Regions from separate parts of the Homo sapiens genome. Here regions 1 and 3 are each linked to region 2. Evidence: promoter capture Hi-C in 16 types of primary human blood cells and fetal thymus (Javierre and others, 2016). All regions are on one chromosome and are shown on one strand. Each heading gives the region's core, a stretch centred on a gene start or on the middle of the fragment in contact. The rest is flanking DNA. Distances are from core to core; before and after follow the strand shown.

Evidence for each region. The method cuts DNA at HindIII sites, captures the fragments that hold promoters and counts their contacts. A CHiCAGO score of 5 or more calls a contact.
Region 1: a contact is called between a fragment that was not itself captured here and the fragment with the promoter of SPAG9 in region 2, in 3 of 17 cell types (naive CD8 T cells, neutrophils and M0 macrophages). The highest score is 6.6, in naive CD8 T cells.
Region 3: a fragment that was not itself captured here is called in contact with the fragment with the promoter of SPAG9 in region 2 in 1 of 17 cell types (erythroblasts); the score reaches 5.7 in erythroblasts.

What each region holds. Positions count from the first base shown.
Region 1 is chr17:50,899,472-50,902,171 of GRCh38, forward strand. No RefSeq gene overlaps it. Among named protein-coding and RNA genes, the nearest start is that of TOB1-AS1, 34 kb to the left of the region's middle. The HindIII fragment of the contact is 4,004 bases long and covers 1-2,700 here.
Region 2 is chr17:51,119,486-51,122,185 of GRCh38, forward strand. It overlaps SPAG9 (sperm associated antigen 9), which reads right to left and starts at 1,383. Exons shown (of 30, transcript NM_001130528.3): 1 at 869-1,383. The coding sequence starts at 1,171. RefSeq lists silencers at 636-765, 786-865, 1,116-1,495 and enhancers at 896-1,015, 1,305-2,119, 1,636-1,865, 2,475-2,700. The HindIII fragment of the contact is 3,961 bases long and covers 1-2,700 here.
Region 3 is chr17:51,269,441-51,272,140 of GRCh38, forward strand. The region is part of intron 4 of UTP18 (UTP18 small subunit processome component); the gene reads left to right. Among named protein-coding and RNA genes, the nearest start is that of UTP18, 10 kb to the left of the region's middle. The HindIII fragment of the contact is 4,003 bases long and covers 1-2,700 here.

The DNA.
Region 1 (2,700 bases), core at 196-2,695, 220 kb before region 2:
TGGGGGGAACAGAGCCAAGAGTTTATTTTTAATTTATTTTTATTTTTTTAGAGACAGGGTCTCACCCTGTTGCCCAGGTTTAAGCACAGTGGTACAATCGCAGCTCACTGCAGCCTCAAATTCCCAGGCTCAAGCGATCTTCCCACCTCAGCCTCCTAAGTAGCTGGGACTACAGGTGTGCACCACCACACTCAGCTAGTTTTTAAATTTTTTTGTAGAGACAGAGTCTCCCTACGTTGCCCAGGCTGGTCTTGAATTCCTGGGCTCAAGCGATCCTCCCAGCTCCGCCTCCCAGAGTGCTGGGATCAGAGGCATGAGCCACCGTGCTCAACCAAGAACCAAGAGTTTAAAGCTGGGCAGATATGAGACAAGAACAAGCCAGAATATCCAGGGATGATTATCCTAAACCCCAGGGAACTCGCTGTTTTCTCTGATGGCTGGTATGCGCATGGTACTCGGGTTATAGGGGCTGGCAAAGAGGGTCAGAAGTAGCCCTCTAACCAGTGCACTGGTTTCTACATGCTGCAGAGAAGTGGCCCAGTCATCACATCCTTTTCCATCCTCCCAGATAACCCGCATCAGTTCATCTGGGTGTGCTGTGGATTGCAAGGCATGAAGATTGACTATCTGTAATTGTTTCTGCAGGAGGCAAGCTGCAGGAGACGGAGGGAGGTAGAGCGAGGGGCCAAGTACACAGAGAGCAGGGCCTGTGAGGAGAGGATTGTCCCCCACTCTCCCTCTCCAGTTTCCTCTCTTTAGAAAGAAAAAGGAATGGACAGGGTCAGCAGAATCTGGAGGCTGCGTTGAAGCTGCCCGTGCTTCTGAACGAAGCAGCCAGTGCCGCTCGACCATCTGGGACACCGGTGGAATTCAGGGCCCCTCTCAGGACATTCAGGGCATGTGGACAAGGTCAGCCACAGGGTGAGGGAGATGGGTAGAGAAAAAGATAACAGGAAATGAATAAGAAAGGGAGCTGCAAAGAGAAAAAAGAGAGCTGGAGAGGAGTAAAGAGGTGAAGGCCCTGTTTCCTGTCCTTGGATTCTTACAGCTCTGCTCACAGCAGCTTCATTTCACACAGTGGCACCGACAACTGATGTGACCGCTTGGGGAGGCAGTAGTGGCGGGAGAAGGCTGGGTTGGGGACCAACTGGGTATGGCATGAGTTTCTGAACCTGGAGAACCTGAAGCCTGATGATCCCTGATGGGAGATGACAACAGGTGGACTGAGCCACTGAGGGGAGGGAGGCGAGCTGGGAGGGGAGGGGGGGGTTCCACGGCAAGCATGTGAATGAGGACACTGGTGGCTGGAGTCCTGGGAGCACCGCAGTCTCCTTTTGGGGTTGATCGGAGCCCTTGGCAGCTTGGGCAGCAGCCATTCATTGCTGTCTTCATTTTATTAACTTTAATTTGTAACTGGGTTGATCAGCAACTGTTCTTCCTGGAGGGTGTAATTAGGGTTATAAATAAAGTCAAGTGGAGAGTTTGGACAACCAAGGGCTGTGCATTCTGTGCTATACTGAGCCCGGGGCCCCCCACGACACCCTCCCTGGAGGACGCCATTTTCCAGCAATAGGTTTGTTGCCTCATTGACTCAAAGGGAAGGCTGAAGTCGCACAGAACCTCATACTTCATGATTTGGAAGGAGTCAGCGTTGGCAACCTTGATCTTCTAGAAACCAGCCATTTGGGGTATTTCCTGGTGGAGCCTTTTTAATTTAGAGCCCACAGCATTCAATTGATCCCAGATGTCCCAGCTCTTCCTTGAACCATCCAGGTATAGTGCATGCTCCTCCCCACCTACCCCATCCAGGCTGGACCCAAGGTCTCTCAGATCTGACTGCTTCTCTCCACCCCTACTGCCCAGGCTTTAGTTCAAGGACAACTCAGTTTCCCTCTGGATTATTCCTTGGTCCTCCTGGTCTCCCATGGCCCTCTCACTGTCTCCAAAGTAACCATCCTAAAGTACAAATATCTCCTTGTTACAGCACTCCAGGACAACCCCAAACAGCCAGCCCCTCACATCTCTTGCCTTTGCACATGCAGTTTCCTTCTCTTTGAATTTGTGTCTCTCTCTTGCCCTTACACGTCCATCATTGCTTGGTCTGAAATTGGTCCTCTACTCTCTTAAATCCTGTGTGTCAGTGTCATTCTGGATTTGCAGATGCATTTTGGACAGGGATCGTATCTCTGAATTTTTTTTCTCTAAGGTCTATCCCAGATAAGGCCCATATATAGATGTTCTAGGTGATAAGGTTCTAAATGTTCTATGTGATAAAGCTGCTGCTGTATATGTGGCTAAGTGTTGAAACCAACACTCTCCAATAAAACTTTACGTGGCGATGGAAATGTCCCATATCTGCCATGTCCAATATGGTAGCCACTAACAACATGTGGCGATTGAGCATTTCAAATATGACTATTGCAGTGAAGGAACTAAATTCATGGTATTGAATTTTAACTTAAGTAATTTAAATTCAAATAGCCACATCTGGCTAGTGGCTACCATATTGGACAGCACAGGTTTGGCTTAAGCCAACTTGGAATAAGGGTTAGTTAACAAGACTTCCTGCCTGTATCAAATTCAGCACCTCACAGCTATTTTTCAATCTTTGAATAAAATAAATAGCAGTAACAACAATATTTAATCCAGGATTAAATATTGTTTTGATAGCTCAGACTGGGGCAATGTCACAGGCTTATC
Region 2 (2,700 bases), core at 133-2,632:
AGAACTCCAAAAGGTTCACAGAGTCGAGGTGAGGGCGCCCAGGTCACTGCTCGGGTGCTAGAGTTAACAGGTGGCCAAATGCACGTATAAACAGCAGTCTAAGAAGGAAACTCAGACGGAAAAAGTGTTGCCAACTGTCACCTACATCTTCCCAACCCCGCCCCCCAATCCTTTTTATAAATAAACGGAGGGTTTTTGAAGGGAACTGTCCAAGGTTACAACCTGATACGGAGGAATGCTTTGGTTTGGGATACCAACGAAATTGTTTATATATTTATTGAGTACTGCCACACAACATCTAAAAGTTGACAAAGTGTCAACCAAGGCACATAGAACATAAAATAAGACGTCTTTCTCAACAAGATTAAAACGTCAAGAAGAAACTGACCGAAAGAGGGAGATCTCTAACTTCCCAAAGCAAGGCAACCCCCTGGAAAGGTACTGGAACTAGCGGAAGTTACATATCCAGGGCAGAAGTGTCCCCCTCCCCAAGGGTAAAACTTTGAACCGCCATCTGACTATCCCACGGTGGTCGGAAACTTCCCTCAACAAGAAGCAACCAGACACCCAACAATCTCCGCCCTTGGCCAACCCCAGGTGTCCTCAGGCCAGGCTGCCGCTTCCTCCCCGGGCCCTGCCTCCTCCATCTCGCTCCCTTCCCAGGACACTCAGTAGCCGGCCTCGGCTTCCAACGCCGGCCTGGCTCCCGGGGTACCTGGAGGCCGCCGGGATCGGTCCCAGGGGGCATCGGCCTCAGGCCCGCCCTCCAGGAGGCCCGTCGCGCCTCTAGTCCCCGACCGGGCCGCGACCCCGCCCCGGCCGCCCCCGGAGACGGATCCCGCGGCCCCCGCCCTGCCGCCGGCCTCACCTCCTCAGCGTGCTTGCGCAGCGCCTTCTCCCGCTCGTACTGGGTGATGAGCTGCTCGTTGTCGTCCCGCAGCAGCTCCAGCTCCACCTGGTGCTCCTGGTCCTGCGCGAACACCGAGTCCAGGTTCTCCAGCACAGCCACCACCAGCGGCATCAGCTCTTTGACCACCTCCTCGTCATAGCGCCCGATAAGCCGCTCGAACTCGCGGTAGATGGAGCCGGCCAGGCCGGACACCCGCTCCGACATCACGGCCCCGGAGCCGCCGGGCTCCTCCTGATACACCACACCGTCCTCCAGCTCCATGGTGGCAAGCGGACGGGCGGGCGGCCCGGGGCGTCGCCGGCAGAGGGGCGGCACCTGCCCGCACGGGACGGACCCGACTCGGGCTGGGACGGGTACTAGGGCTGGAGCCCGGGCCGGGGCTGGGGCTGGGCCCGGCGGGGTGGGGGCCGGGGCCGGAGGAGGGGAGGGGTGGCGTAGGCGCTCTCACCCCAACCGCCGCTGCACCAACTGCCGGGGCGGCCCGGCCGCGCGCGCCACACGTCATCCGCGGGGCGGGGCCGGCGCCGCGTCGGCCCGATGGGCGGGGCGCCGCGGGAGGCCAGGCGCGGCCGGGGGCGGGGCCAAGCGTCTTCGGGCGCTGGCGGAGGAAGCCATGGCGTCAACACCCGGCGCCGCGAAGACGGTGCGGGCGCCAATGGGAAAGACTGCGGTCGGCGGGTGGGGAGAAGTATCCATCCACAGCGGGATTCGCGGGGCGGGTCCCAGGGGAAAGGGAGGGGTTCGGGAAGAGTGACGAGTTAACTTAGCTGGCATTTCTATGGCTTTTTAAAGCTCACAAAGCACCTACTCACTTCATCCCCACAACAGGCGTAAAGAGGTAGATATTTGGACCTCGTTTCACAGACAAAGAAACTAGGCCCAGGAAAGTGGCGTTGCTCTCAAGGTCACGCAGCTACAACGGGAAACGGGCTGAGCCGGGACTCAAACCAATTACCCAGATTGAGAATTCCGGGCTCCGAAAAAAACTGGAAACAGAAAGGGAGGGAAAAAAAACCATAACCAGGGTCTGCCCAAGTGGAAAGGTGGTCTCGAATAGAATAGAACTGTTTTGTGCTATGGAAGAGCAAGGGTGAGATGAGGGGAAATGGGAGTGACTGCTAATAGGTATGGGATTTCGTTTTGGGATAATAAAAATGTTCTAAAAAATGTATTATAGTGATGAATACACAACTCTAAATATGCTAAAAGACATTCAACTTTACACGTTAAGTGAGTGAATCATATGGCGTGTGAATTATATCTCAAGTTATTAAAAAATAAACAGGAAGGGTGATAGCATTCTGGAGAAGGGTGAAACTGGAACGTTACATGTGGCACTTTCCCACATAGTGTGTCTGCTACTTCTGGCCAACTTGGGACGGGGACATTTCCAGGCTCCAGCCACCCTCCTCTCCTCAAGTCTTGAAGTGGGGCGGAAAGGGTAAGTGGGAGGTTGGGGAACAGAGGAGGTAAGGGGTGGAGTCACTGGAGTGAATAAGTCCCATGACAAGTGAGGTTTCTGCCGCCTGGGAGAGTGTCACGTGTGGGGAATGACACAACGCCCACGCCTAGAGCGGGCTGAGTCAAGGATCCCGGTGTGCTCATCTAACGTCCGCAAATGGGACGGAAGACACTCTCAAAAGTCCCTTCTCTGTGTCTCAGGTGACTCAGCTCTCCGTCCCGACTCGTTTAAGAAAAGGGGGAGGAAAGGCAGGATAAACATAGGTTTAAGGGGAGAATTGGCCACCCACCGGGATCATAACTACCCTTAGCTTGGGGTTTACAAGTTT
Region 3 (2,700 bases), core at 91-2,590, 150 kb after region 2:
ATCTGGTTTGTGTGCTTGGAGTTACATGTTTTAGACTTGGAATTAACCTTTGAAATCCTGAGAGTCCGGAGTATATCCTCTCACATCATGTGGGAGCTCCTTCCTTAGCATCCTTCATGTCCGTAGAGCTTCAGTTTGATTATGACCACCTCCTTTGTCCCCTTTCTTCCTACCCTGTTAGTCCTCATGGTACGTAAATGCAGGGAGTCCATACAAAGAGCCAGTGTTTTATATAATTCTATTAGAAAAGACAATCTGTTACTAAGTAGAAATTGACCGTCTTTGTTTCTAGCCATTTGCTTTTAGAGGTTGAAGGAATCTTAGTGATGTGGCCTGACTTTATCCACTGCAGTAATCTTTTCTACATTATCCTCTGCTTAAATATATCAAATAATGTATTGTGTGTGTGTGTGTGTGTGTGTGTGTGTGTCAGTGTCAGAATCTCACTCTGTCACCCAGGGCTGGAGTGCAGTGGGGCAATCTCAGCTCACTACAACCTCTGCCTCCCGGGTTCCAGTGATTGTTTTGTCTCAGCCACCTGAGTAGCTGGGGTTACAGGTGTGCGCCATTACACCTGGCTAATTTTTGTATTTTTAGTAGAATCGGGGTTTCACCGTGTTGGCCAGGCTGGTCTTGAACTCTTGGCCTTCCAAAGTGTTGGGATTACAGGCATGAGCCACTGTGCCTGGCCTAAATAATGTACTTTTTACTAAACTGTTTTTTCCCCTTCTTCCCTTTTCTTTAAGAACTGTTAGACAGTTTTTCCTATTTTGAAATGTATGTCCCAACAAGTCTCTACTCCTACGGTTTGAAACATATAGATTATCTTCTTTTTCTCTCATTTGGGAAGCCTCTTTCCATGTTTGTTTTTTAATATGTTAAACATCCCTCGTTATTTTGACCATTTTTTTGGTGGCGTACTTCTAGACCCTAGATCACCAGTTTGCCCTCCTGGATGAAACATAATTTTATTATCCATTTCAGAATGCTGCATTTATAGAACCCCACAACATTTTAGATTCCTGTAATTTTGGGTATGGTTATGCTAGCTGTTGAAACAAAATCCCACAGATCCCAGTGGCATAATCCAATTGAAGTTGGTTTTTTCAGCACATAAAATTGGGGTGGTAGGAAGGTGATGGTTTACTTTAGGGACCCAAGTTTATAGAAGTTCTGTCATCTTCAGGTTGGTTCTTCCAGAGTTGCCTAAGATGTTGACATCCACTTGGCTTATAGGAGGAGAAAGAGGGGATTTTTATTGGCCTTTCCTGGAAATGGTACAGGATACTTTTGCCTACATTTTGTTGGCTGGAACTCAGTCATAAGGCCACACTAGCTGAGAGGATCCTAGGAAGTGTAGTTTGGCTTTGTGCACAGGAGAAAAAGGAAGTGGATTAAGTCAGCAATTAGTCTGCTACAGTATGGGATATGCTTGTCTAACACATTCATTTTGTACATGAGAGAGGTTCAAAGAGATAGTGACTTGTTGAAGGTATACTTATTGTTGACAGAATGGTGACTAGCACTCAGCTTCATGATTATCTCCAGTGTGTTATTTTTATCTGTAAATATTTACTGAGTTTCGTTATAAGAAAATTCTCCCTTTTGAACATAACCACAGCTCCAAAAATCAACAGCAATTCATTAATATTATGAATTGTTGTATTGTGTTGCTCTTTGTTTATCCCCTCTCCCTATCATTTTAGCTTGCTTTGTATTTTGCTTAGACTTCATAGTACTTTTGAACTGGCTTGATGTCTTCTGTAAGTTTTGGAAATTCTCACCTGTCTTCAAGTATTGTTTCTGTTCCAGTCTTCCTTTCTAGATTATTAGTAATACGTATATTAAATGTCTTCCACCTATTTTTTGGTTTGGTTTTTTTTTGAGACAGGGTCTCACTCTATCGCCCAGTCTGGAGTGCAGTGACGTGATCTTGGCTCACTGTAGTCTCGACCTCCTGGGTTCAAGCAATCCTCCCACCTCAGCCTCTGGAGTAGCTAGGACTACAGGCATGTGCCACCATGCCCAGCTAATGAAAAAAAAAATTTTTTTTTGTAGTGACAGGATCTTATTATGTTGCCCACATTGGTATTCAGTGTTTTTTATCCTTTTTCTTTCTGTACTTCAGTCTGGGTATATTTTTCTGATTCGTTTTCTAGACCACAAATTCTCTCTACAGCTAATTTTGATGTACTGTTAAAAACATCTATTGGAGGCTTAATTTAATTTTATTTGTTATTATTTTTTGAGTTAGTCTTGCTCTGTCGTGTAGGCTGGAGTGCAGTGGCACTACCTCCACTCACTGCGACCTCTGCCTCCTGAGTTCAAATGATTCTCCTGCCTCAGCCACCCAAGTAGCTGGGATTACAGGTGTGCACTACCATGCCTGGCTAATTTTTGTATTTTTAGTAGACACGGGGTTTCACCATTTTGGTCAGGCTGGTCTCGAACTCCTGACCTCAAGTGATCCACTTGCCTCGGCCTCCCAAAGTACTGGAATTACAGATATGAGCCACCATGCCTGGCCTATTGGGGGCTTACTTTTAATTACGTATTTTTCAGCTCTAGAATTTCTTTTTCAAATATTCTACATTTCTGGCTCAATTTTGAATCTTGTCTTTCATTCTTAAATATATTAAACATAGTTTTTTTTGTTGTTGTTGTTTGTGTTTTTTTGAGACAGAGTCTTATTCTGTTGCC